Regions from separate parts of the Homo sapiens genome. Here regions 2 and 3 are each linked to region 1. Evidence: promoter capture Hi-C in 16 types of primary human blood cells and fetal thymus (Javierre and others, 2016). All regions are on one chromosome and are shown on one strand. The core of a region is centred on a gene start or on the middle of the fragment in contact, and the rest is flanking DNA. Distances in the headings are between cores, read along the strand shown.

Region 1 (4,784 bases), core at 2,285-4,784:
GGCCACAAAGAAGGTTCGTCCTCCTAAGCCACCACCCAGAGACCCTCGGCTCGGAAGCTGGGATATTCCCAGGGAGCCAACAGGGTAGACCCTCAGGAGGCCTTTAGGGAAGTCTGCCCTTCCCCAGTTTCTTTTTAAACATGCTCTTCCCTCCTCCAGAAATGTCCTTTCCTCCTTCTCAGCCCAGCTGACTGCTACTCATCCTTCGAGTCCCAACACAAAGCTCGCCTCCTCTAGAAGCCATCCCTGGCTCCCCTATGTAGTAACCGGTCCCTCCAAAGTGTTCCCACAGCTCCTGACTTAGTCGTTCTTGGTCTAACTTAAATATCAATGTTCTTTTCGCCCATCTGCCTCCCCACTAGTCTGTAAGCCCCTAGAAGTCAGGGCCTCTTATTCTTTTCTATATTCCTACTGTCTTACACATTGCCAGTAAATGTGGAAGGAAGGGGGAGGGGACGAAAGAAGAAACGGGAAGCACCAGTTCTGGCCTGAGGCACCAGAGGCTTTGCCCTGTGGCCTGTCCTCCTGGTATTCATCTGCCTCACATGACCTGGCGCCTCCTAGCTTGAACCCTCAGTTTCTGCCTCGCTCTGGGCAGGGAGGACACAGCTCCCATTAGCTGCCTCCTGTTGCTAGTGCCTGCCAGCCCCTCATTAGCCCAGATGGTCCCCACTTCTGCCCTGAGAGATATGGGCTCAGCAGAGGTCGAGGCACAAATGAGTTTCCCTGACCTTCCTGCCTGGTGAGCCCCTTATGCCAACCCCAGGCAGTTATCCTCAGGCTGCTATTGGACAGAAGCATTTGATCCTCAGAGCTCTGACCGTGGACACACACTTTACCATCAGTTATGGGGTCAATCCAGGGGCCTAATGAGGAGCATCTTACCTGGGAGAAAGTGAGGCATATGACTCAAGCTAGACATGTGAGGAAAGGCTAGGATAACCAGGAATAAAGAGAAGTATCCAGATGGCATACTCTGGTCCAAGGACCAGATGGCCCCTAGCCTCACTTGGCAGAGGCCAAGCCTCCAGCCTCCCAATTCTTTACATTTCATTCAGCTCCCTGAGAATGCTCCCCTCAGCCTGCCATAGGAGTGTGCTCTCCGCAGCACAGAGGAGTCATGGAAGTGGAGACTGTGAGAGTGACAGAAGAGAAGAAACAGAACATGGAGGCCTGCCTCCTAGGCCACACACCTGTGCCCGGCCACACCTCTGGCTTCTAGACTCCAGCTTGCCCTGGGAACCTCTCCTCCCAGGGAGGCTGAAGACAGGCCCTGGGGCAGTAGTGGGTGGAGACTGGACCTCAACGCCTAGAGGGAAGTGAAAGGGTTAACCACCCCGCCACCCACCACCACCTGCCACTGGGCCCCTCTAGCCAGCTCACCCCAGAGCACTGTAAGCCCAGGCTTGTCTTTGGTGCTCTCTCAATTTCATCTTCCCTCTTATTCCTCCTTCCCACTCCTTCTGGGAGACACTGGGAGGAGAAGCTAGGGGCCATTGGCACCAGCTGTCTCTGGGGTGTCATTTAATACTGTCCGTAATCACCACCTCCTCTCCTGGCTTATTAACTCTTTCCCTCATGGCTACTCTTGTCATCCCTGGACATCTCTCTATCTCTGTCTAGCTCTCACCACACACACACACACACACACACACACACACACACACACACACACACACACACACAGTGAATGGGAAGAGGGAAGGGCTAGGAACTAGGCACACTCTGGTTTCTTGCCACTGCAGTTCCTTTCCCACCTGACTTCACCCCCGAAAACTAGTCCCACCACCAGCTGGGCCAGGAGCAGGAGACAGGCTGGTTCAAGGAGCTGGAGGAACAGAGGACACTTCTGAACCAGCAGAGCAATCACACAACAGCAAGCTCAGAGAAAGAGAATCCCAGAGGGCAGATTTGAGGATGGACACAGGGAATACAAAATTAGAAACTGCCCAAAGATATAGATTCCTCCTCCAAACAAAATAGAGTCACCAGAGTCCGAGTGAGGACTAGAACACTCTGATCATGTATGCGTTTCATAGCCTAGATGGGAAAAGGGAATAGAGGCCTTTTCCCCTGGCAACTCAAGGAGATTCTGCTTCTGAAAGTGTTTCCTGAACTTCAGGATGCTCTGAAGAAGTAAGGAGCCGTATCAATCACTGTTGAGTTCATTGGCAGGAAATAGACCACAGTCAGGGTGAGGGGCTGGGAGCCTCAGACCTGCCACCTGCCAACTACAGGGTCTTGGGTTTCATGGTTGTGAGATTATAATGACCACACATCCACAGGACACTTCTATCTCAAATATCCAGTGCTTCTGTCAGACGAGGTGCCATGATTTGGAGAAGTGAAAAGGTGGGGAAACCGAAGCAGGAGGATCGCTTGAACCCAGGAGTTGGAGTCCATCCTGGGCCACACAGCAAGATATTGTCTCTATTTTCTTTTTAAAAAATAAATTTTAAAAATAAAGAAAATAAAGTATGGTCCTTTCATGCAATGCCCAGCATGTGTCAGTCCTTCCACAGCATCTTTTTCTTTTTCTTTCTTTTTTTTTTTTTTTTTTTTTGAGATGGAGTTTCACTCTGTTGCCCAGGCTGGAGTGCAGTAGTGCTGTCTTGGCTCACTGCAACCTCCACCTCCCAGGTTCAAGCGATTCTCCCGCCTCAGCCTCCCAAGTAGCTGGGACTACAGGCGCCCGTCACCATGCCCAGCTAATTTTTGTATTTTTAGTAGAGTCGGGGTTTCACCATATTGGCCAGGCTGGTCTCCATCTCCCGACCTTGTGATCCGCCCGCCTCGGCCTCCCAAAGTGTTGGGATTACAGGCGTGAGCCATCGCGCCTGGCCCCACAGCATCTATTTTAGCAGCCACCGCAAGGGCTGGGTGACCCTGGTGTAGCCGGGAGTGGGCTTATTTGCAGGTGAACTGGGAGGGTGCCCCCACCTGAGTCTTAGGTCATAGGAGAAGTGCGGGTCAGGCCTCAGCTGCCTATCCCTGGAGCAAAGGCAAAGTCCAGGATAGCCTTCCAGTATCACCTTCCACCAGGCAGGCCAGCCGGTCCTCTGAGAGATAAGGCTCACACTTTGGACTCCACACAGCGACGGGGCCCCCTGCCCCTCCAGCTGGCAGGCGGGCTCCCTGCCTGCTTAGGGGTCTAGGCCGAGGCAGGGGGAGGACCGGACGGCCGGCCACTCGCCGCGACCAGCAGGAGAGAGGGGTGCCTGCCACAGGTTGTCACCCTCGCCGCCTCCCCCGGCGGCGCCCCGCCCCTTACTCAGCCCTCATTACTGCAGCGCCTCGCGGGGGTCTGGCCCGGAGTGGAGGGCGCGCGGTCCCAGCCCTCCCGCTCGGCCGGCGGGTGTCGAGTTCAGGTGCGACCGAAAAGGGGAAAGGAGGGCACCGCCACGTGAGCTGTCCTCTCCGGGGAAGGCGGTGGCTGCGTGAGGGCGGGGGCTGCTCGGTCCCCAGGGCCCCGCCCCTCTGCCCCTCTGCCCCGAGCGGTGCTGGCGGTAGGGAGGGGCCAGCCCGGTCCCCGCCCTCCTCGCCCGGACCCGCGCTGCCCGGCTCCCGCGGGCCGCTCGATCCCAGTCCCAGGCTGGGCATCGGGGCTGGCTGGCATCGCCGGGGAGCCGACGGCGACGGGGAGCCCCGCGGGCGGGGAGGGCGGCGCAGGGCAGCGGGTGCGGTGACACCTGTGGGCACAGGTGAGCGGCGGGAGGGCTACGCGGCCCGGGGGCGGGGCGGCCGGGACCCGGGGCCTGGAAGCCGGGGCGAAGGGGAAGGAAGGCCTGGCCTCCCGAAGGCGGGAGGAGGGGAGCCGGGGGCTGGGCTGAGACAGGACCCTGGGTAGGGAGCAGTGCGAGGGAGACAGCGCCCTCAGAGGGAGGACTATTGGGAGGCGGCAGGAGGGACAGCGAACGTTTCCTCCTCTGCTCCTGAATCGGAGGAAGGTAAGGGAGGGCTGAGGCAGGACCTCAGGCCCACCCGGTCGGGGCACAAACACCTGCGCAGCCTTCTTGAGCCCACCGCCCCTTAGGAGGCCTCTCCTCTTCCAGGCCCTGCCCACTCGAGGGCGGGCCCTCCCTCCAGGTTTAGGGGGGAGGGATGGAGCCCCACGCCTGGCCCCCAGCTCCATGGTGGTATTCCCAGAGTCTGGGGAGGACCAAATATATAGCCCGAAACTGGAGAAACTCTAATTCTATTTGGCTGGTCTCTAAGGGCAGTGGCCGGACAGCTGGCCCCACTCACCTCCCTGTCTGTGGTCAGGAGGGTTCAGGTAGGAGATGGGCAAGCCTTTCAGTAAAGGCCAGACAGTAAAGATTAGAGACTTCGCGGCCTACACCGTCTGTCCCAACTAGCAAGAAGCAGTCACAGGTTATTAGGAGACCAGCAGAAGAGGATGGATTCCAACAAAACTGTGTTTATGGACACTGAATTTGAATATCATGTAATATTTACTTGTCCCAAAATATTGGTGGCTTTTTTGCAGGGGGGGCAGCAGTTGTTTCAACTATGTAAATATGTAAAGGCTTACAGGCTGTACAAAAACTGGTGGCAGACTGGGCTGTCTCCAGCCACCCCCACTCCCAGCCCACCCCACCCACCATGGCCTCCCTCCAGCTTTTTCCCAAGCTTTATATGGGGAAGGGGATGGGGTTATATCTAGGTGCAAGGAGAACCCTCCCACCTGGGTGTATCCAGAAAGCCCGAGACCTGTCTGTGACCCTTGTTCCCATTTGAGACCAGTGCAGGAGCTTGTACCCCAAATATGCACACATGTGAGAGAG
Region 2 (4,784 bases), core at 1,678-4,177, 840 kb after region 1:
AGTGGATGCCGCTTAAATGCTGGCTATTATTACATAAAGGCATTTTCACCCCTTATTATGGTTTATGGGCGGTTTTTAGGAGATACTGCCATCTAGTGGGTGAATTACATGATTTAAGAGTTAGGATTTCTGCGTTCCAATCTTGTTACCCCTCTCCCCGATTCTGCCTCAGTTTCTCTGTGAGCTATATGAAGATAAACATCTCAAATTTGCCCCTATCCTGGGAGGGGTGGGTTTAGAGGGGAGAGGGCTCTGAGCCCTAGAGGGTGACTGGGCGTGATTATCAGGCCTCACAGTTAGAGCTGTGGAAGGCCCCGGGCTGTGGCTTTTGGGAATTTGCTGGTTCAGGGTGTGGAGCTGAAGGTCACAGGCAGTTGAGTTAATGTGGGTGCAGCTGATTGCTGAGTATGCACCCCGCCATGTCCCAGTCAGAGCTCCAGTTGTTAAAGGGCTGTCATCCAGTTATGAAAGGCTTGATCCCTCAGAAGCCAAGGCATTGCCTCGTCCCCTCCAGTGCTGAGGAGCCATGGCAGAAGGGAGGGCTCTGGTTTTTGGCCTAGGGTGGAGCTCTGCAAGGGGAGTTCCTGCGGGGGGAGGAGTTGACATTCTCTTTGCTGACTGCCTCATCTGAATTCCTGCTATCTTTTTCATGCCCAGGATAGAGGTTTATCCAAGGGCTTGGAACCTGCCTTTGAGGAAAGGGGCCTTGATGTTTTCTCTATGAGGTTAAGAAACAGAGTTTTCATTTCTCCATTTCTAAGGTTACTACATGGTTGGTGCTATCCTAATACTTCCCTGAGGTCACGGGAGAAAATATAGAGGGGTGTGTGTGTGTGTGTGTGTGTGTGCGCGCGCATTTGTGTGTATGTAACAGACACAGACAGGTACCTAGCAATACCTCCCTTTCCCTGATGCATTTCCTTGCCCCTGTCCCTGTGGCTTTCATAGCTTCCAGTTTTCAGTTCTTGGACCTCTGTCTATTTAAAGCCAGATTTATGCAACTATTTGGTCAATGCCTAAATGCAAGTTTTCCTGAAGTTTTTTTTTTTTTTAGTATTTTTCTTGGAAAGCCCATTTACTTGTGGAATTGACCCCTGAACAGATAGATACCACATCTATTTCTCTAGTTTTGTCCTCTTTCCACAGCTCTTGACTTTCCATCTGCTTCCTGTAACCTCTATCTAGAAGTTCTGCTAGCACCTCAACCGAAAGAGCTAATGCTGAAATAATCAACTGCAATCCCAAACCAGCCTCTCTCCCTGAACTCTCTCTGTAATGGTGCCTCTGTCCTTGCAGTCATCCAGAGCTTGAAACCTCTGAGTCATCTTTGATTCTTCCCTGTCTTTATCCTCCACTGCCCATCAGTTGCCAGCTCACCTGGACCCTGCCTCTGTGCCGCGTGTCTGAAATCTGTCTCCTCTTTCTTTTGCTGCTGTTACTGTTCTAGCCCAGGTCTTATTACCTCTTATCTGGCCCATTGCCTCCTAACTAGCTGACCTATCTCTAGTCTTCGAATTTTATTTATCCTCTACTCTGAGGCTAGGTGAGTGATCTTAAGTTGAGTTTTCATCATCACACTTCCCTGATGAAAAAGACGTCGGTGGCTTCCTCTTGCCCACTGCATAAAAATGTCAAATGTGCTGGGTGCCGTGGCTCACACCTGTAATCCCAGCACTTTGGGAGGCCAAGGTGGGAGGATCACTTAAGGCCAGAAGTTCGAGACCAGCCTGCACAACCAACAGACCGCAAGTCTGTAGTCCCAGCTACTCAGGAGGCTGAGGTGGGAGAATCACTTGAGCCCAGGAGTTCGAGGCTGCAGTGAGTCATGATTGCACCACTGCATTCCAGCCTGGGCGACAAAGCGAGACCCTGTCTCTAAAAAATTAGAGAGAGAGAAAAAAAAAACAGATCTTATCATGGCATTTAAAGCTGCCAGCCATCTGGCTTCTGGTGGTTCCTGCCTCATGTTCCTCTACTCCCCTTAGTAAGCTTCTCGCCATCCACTCTGGGTCAGTACTACCCTCCTTCAAAGGCTAGCTCAGTTGCTACTTTCTCTGATCGTTCCTACCTTCCTTTTCCAAGCACCCTCCTCTTATCCTAGGCAGAACTAACCTCTCCCTCCTCTGAACTCTTCTGGTTGTTTGTTCCACTCATATGGCGATGACCATATTTGCCTTTCTTTTAACTTTTGTGTGCCACGTCTAATCTCTCTACCAGACCAACGGTGCCTTTGGGTCAGGCCTCCTATTCCCCTTGGGATTCCCAGACCAGCGGCACAGCACAGCATTGCTCATTGCAGGGAGGATGTCTGTTGGAGCCTGTGCCTTCAGGGTCATCTGGGATTGTTTCCCAAGGGGCTTTGCCCTAGGCCTATCTGGATGGCAGACTGTAATAGGCCCTGCTCCGTGTGGTACAGGAACTCAGCACATCCCGGGCATTGGCAACTTCAGGGGCTCTGAGCTCATCATGCCTACTGAGATGATGCCTTCTCCCTTTTTACTCCAGCATTCAAGCTGGGCATGCTCAGTAACACTAATAATTACAGTCCTCTCTGTAAAATCATTTCCGCTAGCACCAGCGTGGGGATCAGAGTCCATGCTCCTGGATCACTAACTCCACCGTGAAGTCTGCTTGTTCAAGTGGGGAAACTTCTTTACAGATACATTTCCCTGGTGCAAACCCAGGCCCCAAATGGTGCCTGTGGTTTAGTGGAAAGATCAGTGGACTTGGGCGGTGTGTGGTGGCGCACACCTGTGGTCCCAGCTCCTCAGGAGGCTGAGGCACGAGATTGCTTGAACCTGGGAGGCAGAGGTTGCAGTGAGCTGAGATGGCACTACTGCACTGCAGCCTGGGCAACAGAGAGAGACTCTGCCAAAAAAAAAAAAAAAAAAAAAAAAAAAAATCAGTGGACCTGGAAGGAGAAGAATGATTTAAGCCTAGACTCTGGTTTAAGCCTTGATTGTTTCTTTTTCTTTTTCTTTCTTTTCTTTTCTTCTTTTTTTTTTTGAGATAGGGTCTCACTCTGTCGCCCAGGCTGGAGTGCAGTGGCCTGATCTCATCAGCTCACTGCAACCTCTGCCTCCTGGGCTCAAGTGTTCCTTCCACCTCAGCCTCCTGAGTAGCTGGGACTACAAGCATCTACCACCACACCTGGATAATTTTTGTATTTTTTGTAGAGACGGGGTTTCACTATGTTGCCCAGGCTGATCTCGAACTCCTAAGCTCAAGGGATCCTCCCGCCTCAGCCTCCCAAAGTGCCAGGATTTACAGGCATGAGCCATCATGCCCAGCCTGAGCTTTAGGCATTTTACAGCATAGAAATGAGGTTATAATATAATGAAATAATATGGGCCAGGTGCGGTGGCTCACGCCTGTAATCCCAGCACTTTGGGAGGCCGAGACGGACAGATCACCTGAAGTCAGGAGTTCAAGACCAGCCTGGCCAATATGAAGAAATCTCATCTCTACTAAAAATACAAAAATTAGCCGGGTGTGGTGGCATGCGCCCTATAATCCCAGCTACTTGGGAGGCTGAGACAGAGGAATCGCTTGAACCCAGGAGGCAGAGGTTGCAGTGAGCCAAGATCGCACCATTGCACCCTAGCCTGGGCAACAAGAGTGAAACTCCATCAAAAAGAAAGAAAGAAAGAAAGAAAGAAAGAAAGAAAGAAAGAAAGAAAGAAAGAAAGAAATGTGGGAAAATGCTTCATAAACTGGCAAGGGCTATTGATTGTGAGGTGTTGTTATTACTGGTAAAGGTGGGGCTAAATGTGATCCTGGGAGCATCACTGCTGAGCAGCTGTGCTGTTGGTTGGTCTGGCTCAACAGAGTCCTCTAAGGATAGCTTGTCCTGATGCCTGGATCCTCAAGCTTCATGAGACGGTGGATCTAGGTCCAAGGTGGTCAGATGATCTCACCTACCAAAGTGTGTTTCCCCGATATTGAAGGGAATGAAAGACACACCAAAGAGGAGGACATCCTTTGATAGATGTCCACATTCTACTTTTATTGTTGAATAATTTTGGGCGCATATGTGCCGGATAGTATACTGAGTCCATGTACTTTTAAACTGCTGGATAAAGAACTGTGTGTGTATATATACCTGTTTGTCAGTTCAGTTTGCTTTGTTTTTCATTAAAATAGCATCTATAGGTACTCCATAATCCTGGGGTAGGGCATTGATGGTGTGATCACACCCACAGGTTGGGATTACCTGACCTTCTGTCCTCGACATTTTCCTTGGTGACATCCTACCAGGAAAGGATATGTCCCCCTTCAACTGCTGTGGGGGTTGGGATGCAGAGGCATGACCCCCTTTCTTCCCCTGCCCCTTCCTGACATGAGATGCTCTATGATAGAGGTAGCTGGGGCGGGGAGTGAAACAGAATGTGGGTTTTCGGGGAGGAAGTGTTGGGGTCACATGCTGCTTCTCCTGCTTTCTTACATAGGTGCTTCAGCGAAGAGTCCTGCGTCTCCATCCCTGAAGTGGAGGGCTACGTGGTCGTCCTTCAGCCTGACGCCCCCCAGATCCTGCTGAGTGGCACTGCTCATTTTGCCCGCCCAGCTGTGGACTTTGAGGGAACCAACGGCGTCCCTTTGTTCCCTGATCTTCAAATCACCTGCTCCATTTCTCACCAGGTGGAGGCCAAAAAGGATGAGAGTTGGCAGGGCACAGGTAAGGACGACTTCGGGGAGTAACACCATCCAGAGAACCAGCCAGTGTCTGGAGTCAGAGTGTGGGAGAACTCCTGGGGCTGGAAGCAGAAAGCGACTCCATCCTGTGT
Region 3 (4,784 bases), core at 589-3,088, 790 kb after region 1:
ATGATCTTTAAGATATATTATTCAGTAGAAAAATACCACGTTTAGAACACTTGCAATATAGACACACACAATTTATCCTCTTCCCGGGAAGAATATCCAGGAAATGGAGAACACAGTTGTTTCTGGGGAGGGCAGCCAGGAGTTAAGAGCCAGAGATCAGAGGAAGACTTACTTTTTAGCATACTTAAAAAAATGATATTTTATCATGTGCACCCTTCCTTCCTTTCCTTCCTTCCTTCCCTCCTTCCCTCCTTCCTTCCCTCCCTCCCTCCCTCCTTCTTCCCTCCCTCCCTCCCTCCTTCCTTCCTTCCCTTCTTACTTTCCCTCTCTCCCTCCCTCCCTTCTTTCTTTCCCTCTTTCTCCTTTCTCGCTTTCTTCCCTCCCTTCCCTTCCCTCTCCCTTTTCCTCCTTCCTTCCTTCCTCTCTTCCTCTCTTTCTCTCTTCTAGTTTCTCCGTGTCTCCCAGGCTGGAGTGCGGTGGCATGATTGTGGCTGACTGCAGCCTCAAACTCCCTGGCTCAAGCAATCCTCCCCCTCAGTCCCTGAGTAGCTGGTACTACAGGTGTGCACCACCATGCCTGGCTAATTTTTAATTTTTTTTGTGGAAACGGGGTCTCACTATGTTGCCCAGGCTGGTCTCCAACTACTGGCCTCAAGCAATCTTCCAGCCTTGGCCTTCCAAAGTGCTGGGATTACAGGCATGAACCACTGCCTCCAGCCAGTATTTATCTTTCAAAAACAAATCTGAGTCATCATTTGAAAATTTATAATTTTACTTAAAAATCTGGATTTTTGGCATCTCTTTAAAAATGAGATGATCTGCAAACACTGGGCCTGTAAATCTGCATGGAAACAACCGCTGGGGGCTCAGCTACGGCTGTCTCTTAATAGGGTTGCTTGCCAGCAGGGGCAGGGCTGGGATCCAGCCCAGGTGTCCCTGAGTCCCCAGCCTCAGCTGTCACTCAAGCTTCCACTTAAGGCTTGAAGATACCAGGGTCATGGCTGGGAACAGAGGCTCCCTCCCTGCACCCCCAGGAGGGACACTCACCCACGGTTTGGTAGAGGGCCAGGAAGCCCTTGTGGAGGTGGGCAGTCTTGTTCTCCGAGGAAGGCTGTGTGCGGAAGGTCAGCCGCAAACTCCTCCCTGAGGATACAAACTCCCTCTGACCAGGGGGCCTGCCCAGAGGGGAGCCTTGCTGACCACAGAACTGGCTTGGATCCGAACCGACGAATGAGATCTGAAAGCGGGAGGAGGAGTGAGGCTGCAGATAGGTGTGGGGTGAATCCGCGCTGCTGGCATCACAGGGGCACATCCTCGGTGTGACTCCTGCCCCATCTAGACGGGCCGTGCCCCTCTGGGGCTCAGAAGGCACCTCACAGAGGCTTCCTCAACTAGCTTCTGGTTCCATTATTGACGCCTGAGTTTCTTCCAGACATAACCACATACTACAATGTTTCTTTAGCCTACCATAATTATTTCACGTAACCCACTATATTTTCCTTCTTTTAAGAAGTTCCTTGGGAACACCAGGGTTCCCATGGGAGTCACTGGATTATGCATTCTAAGAAGGCAAGGACTACTTCTGTCTTTTTCTCCACTGAGTTCCTGGTGCTCAGCGTGGTACCTACAGCACCACAGCGTTGACTCAATGAACATGGGCATAAGCCCCTCCCATCCAGCTTCTCCTCCATCCCCAAAGCCCATCCCATCACCTTCCACTTCTGTGAGTAACTTTCTTTGGCCAACATCTGTGAGGCAGTAATACCCTCTGCAGAGACTGAGCCTCTGGGGTCCCTGCCTTTTCCTGCTTTCCTTCTTTTGGGGTGCCCCTCCTCTTATCCCATGCACTTTGTAAACGAAGCTCTCACAATGTATGAAAACCTAAGGACACAGGTGTCCACAGTCCAGCTGCACTGGATGGTGTTGCTTCATCGGGCAGCTTGTCTCTGTTTCAATGCCCTTTTGACTGTCTCGCCTCTGCTCAAATACCTTCCTGTGGGTTCCTTAACTCAAGGAAGGGGCCATGCTTCCTGCTTCATCTCTGTTCCAGGCACACAGCTCACTGCTTAGCTCATTTTATTTCTGGTTTTCATACTGATCCATATATCCTAGGTTTTTGCTAGCTCTCCATTCCCTCATTCTCCACAAGTCCCAAATTCATTCAAGACTTCATCCAGACCATGTCATTATGATCAGAGTAACTGGGTAAAATTTGCGATGAAGAAAATTTCTCAATCGCCCCAAATACCTGGTTCAGACAAATCCCAATACTGGTCTTTTGCTTAGAATATCAGCAAATGTAACTCCTGGCATTTAAGAGGCCTGCTTTTTGGGGAAGAAGCAATTTGATGTAGGAAATGGTGCTCAACTGCTCTACTTGGTTGTAAAACCCTCCAGCTTTCTTTTTGCCCTTTTCCCTGAATTGTTAGCGAAATACAATTGCTTAGGATTCTAACTAGGAAAGTAGAGTGGACACAGGACTGAGTCCTAAGACCCTTAAATTCTAGACTTTGCTACTAATTCCATGTGTGAAATGGGGAGTTTCTGAAGCACCCAAGATCTCAGTTTCCTCTCCTATATAATGGTCTGTGTGGCCTCTTCCAGCATGTTCTATGGCATCTTCCAGAGTCTGCACTAAGAGCAGTGGTGAGGATGGATACTCAATACCTGCTCCTTCAAAATTCATTATGTTGTGTGTCCTGCACACACATAAGCTTGCATTTTATTCACTCTCTCACTTATTCCTTTAACACATTTACTGGTTGTGTACTATGTGTAAGATACTGTGCTAGGTGCTGGGGACACAGATGTGACAAAGGCACAGTTCTGCTCCCGAGGAGCAGTGGCTGAGGACGCTGACAAGTAAAAAAATAAACTAGGTTATAGTGTGCTGAATTCTGCCTTTGAGGGGTGTGTGTGTGTGACTTACTCTGGGAGGAATCCTTTTTCTGAACTTGAAGTTTCTCAATGACAAGAAAAAAGGCCAGGATTAAAAATCTCCATGATTTAAGAGGAACGGGACTCATGGTAGGTGCTCAACAGACATAGGCTGAATTGAACAAAGTATCATCCTGACTGGTTAAGTCTGAAGCAATAAATGCATGCATATATTTCCTCTCCCATCTCAACCCCAGTCGTATGACAGCAAAGGGATAAAATGGTACACATAACCAAGGACAAAAAAGGGAGAGAAGATGACAGCAGATGACAGGTGTCAACACACTTTGGAAGATGGAGTGGAGATGCAAGTGATAACTTGAGTTTGCAATGATGGGAGCCAACATAAAGCAAGCAGGTTCTCATCACAGAACCAGGGGAAGTTTTAAAAATTGGGGGAATCAAGATAGGGATGAGGGAAGGGCTGGCACGGGGATGGCAGACCAGAAGCCTGTGAGGGAGACTGCAGAATCCTAGAATCTCTGTGCACCCAGGCAACTCCCTCTGGCCCACCCTGGCAGAAGGCATGAGCTTAACAAGAAACCCTGGACTTGAGGCCCCGCGGCACACTTGATAGAGGGGGCGAAGGCCAGTGCAGCAGGTCCATGAATAACATCGTCGTTTCATTATGACGTTGACGAGAAAAAATATTGCCCCGTGTCCGGGGCCACTCTCTGGGTGAAGTCTGCACATTCTTCCCATGTCTTCAGTGGTTTTCTCCAGGTCCTCTGGTTTCCTCCCACATCCCAAGCTGTGCCTGCTAGGCGACCTGGTATGTCTCCACGGTCCCAGTGTGAGTGAGTATGAGTGTGTGAGTGCGTCCTGAAACAGGATGGTGTCCTGTCCAGCACTGGTTCATGCCTTGCATCCTGAACTGCTGCAACAGGCTGTGGCCACCCGTGACCCCAAACTGGAATAATTGGGTAAATAATCTTATTCGTTTTTATTAACCTTTCTTACATGTAGGCATAGTTCACATGTATTTCAATATTTAATATTAGAAGTGTTTGGGGTCTTTATTTAGAGGTTTGGTGATGTTTCTGTGATCAGTAATTGCTGTAGAAACTTCACTCTTGTCTATATCAATTAGCTCTATGGCCAAATTGGTTTCATTCTATGTTATTTCTCTTAAAGTCATACTTTCCAAGAACCTATGGATGATTTTAAGTGAGGACTCACTGTACCAAAAACAGAAGGATTAAGTGAAAGTCTACCTGCCAAACAGTGAGCTGCATCTCCCTCCACCAGGCCCTTTTCTCAGCTTGTTGACCAGAATGCTGGGGTCCCTGAGCTGGAATCTGCAGGAGTCCTCTCAGGGGAAACTGGCTGCCCCCAAATAAAATGCTTTTACATCCTGACAGTTGGGAGGCCCCCAGTGGCACATCTAGGTCACCTTGTCGATAACCCTATTTTCAAACCTATCATTTGACAAATTTTAGCTATCCACACAGAACTTCCAATCAGTATTTTAGTGCTCCACTCTTTTTTTTTTTTCCTTGAGACAGAGACTCACTCTGCACCCCACAGGCTGTAGTGCAGTGGCCTGATCTCGGCTTACTACAACCTCCACCTCCCAGGTTCAAGCGATTCTTATGCCTCAGCCTCCCAAGTAGCTGGGATTACAGGCGTACACCACCATGCCTGCCTAATTTTTGTATTTTTAGTAGAGACGGGGTTTCACCATGTTGGCCAGGCTGGTCTCAAACTCCTGGCCTCAGGTGATCTGCCTGCCTCGGCCTCCCAAAGTGCTGGGATTACAGATGTGAGCCACTGCGCCCGGCCTTAAATATGAATGGACAGCCAAGTATTATCAGATATCGTAGGAAAGTCTCTAACACAAAAAGCAG

The links. The method cuts DNA at HindIII sites, captures the fragments that hold promoters and counts their contacts. A CHiCAGO score of 5 or more calls a contact.
Region 2: a contact is called between a fragment that was not itself captured here and the fragment with the promoter of PLEKHG6 in region 1, in 1 of 17 cell types (activated CD4 T cells). The highest score is 5.5, in activated CD4 T cells.
Region 3: a contact is called between a fragment that was not itself captured here and the fragment with the promoter of PLEKHG6 in region 1, in 1 of 17 cell types (activated CD4 T cells). The highest score is 6.1, in activated CD4 T cells.

What each region holds. Positions count from the first base shown.
Region 1 is chr12:6,307,148-6,311,931 of GRCh38, forward strand. It overlaps PLEKHG6 (pleckstrin homology and RhoGEF domain containing G6), which reads left to right and starts at 3,535. Exons shown (of 16, transcript NM_001384598.1): 1 at 3,535-3,701. RefSeq lists an enhancer at 2,349-3,069 and a silencer at 3,432-3,481. The HindIII fragment of the contact is 5,964 bases long and covers 1-4,627 here.
Region 2 is chr12:7,144,524-7,149,307 of GRCh38, forward strand. It overlaps CLSTN3 (calsyntenin 3), which reads left to right. Exons shown (of 18, transcript NM_014718.4): 13 at 4,449-4,675. Among named protein-coding and RNA genes, the nearest start is that of CLSTN3, 17 kb to the left of the region's middle. The HindIII fragment of the contact is 1,881 bases long and covers 1,988-3,868 here.
Region 3 is chr12:7,100,851-7,105,634 of GRCh38, forward strand. It overlaps C1RL (complement C1r subcomponent like), which reads right to left. Exons shown (of 6, transcript NM_016546.4): 3 at 1,048-1,237. Among named protein-coding and RNA genes, the nearest start is that of C1RL-AS1, 5.1 kb to the right of the region's middle. The HindIII fragment of the contact is 1,748 bases long and covers 965-2,712 here.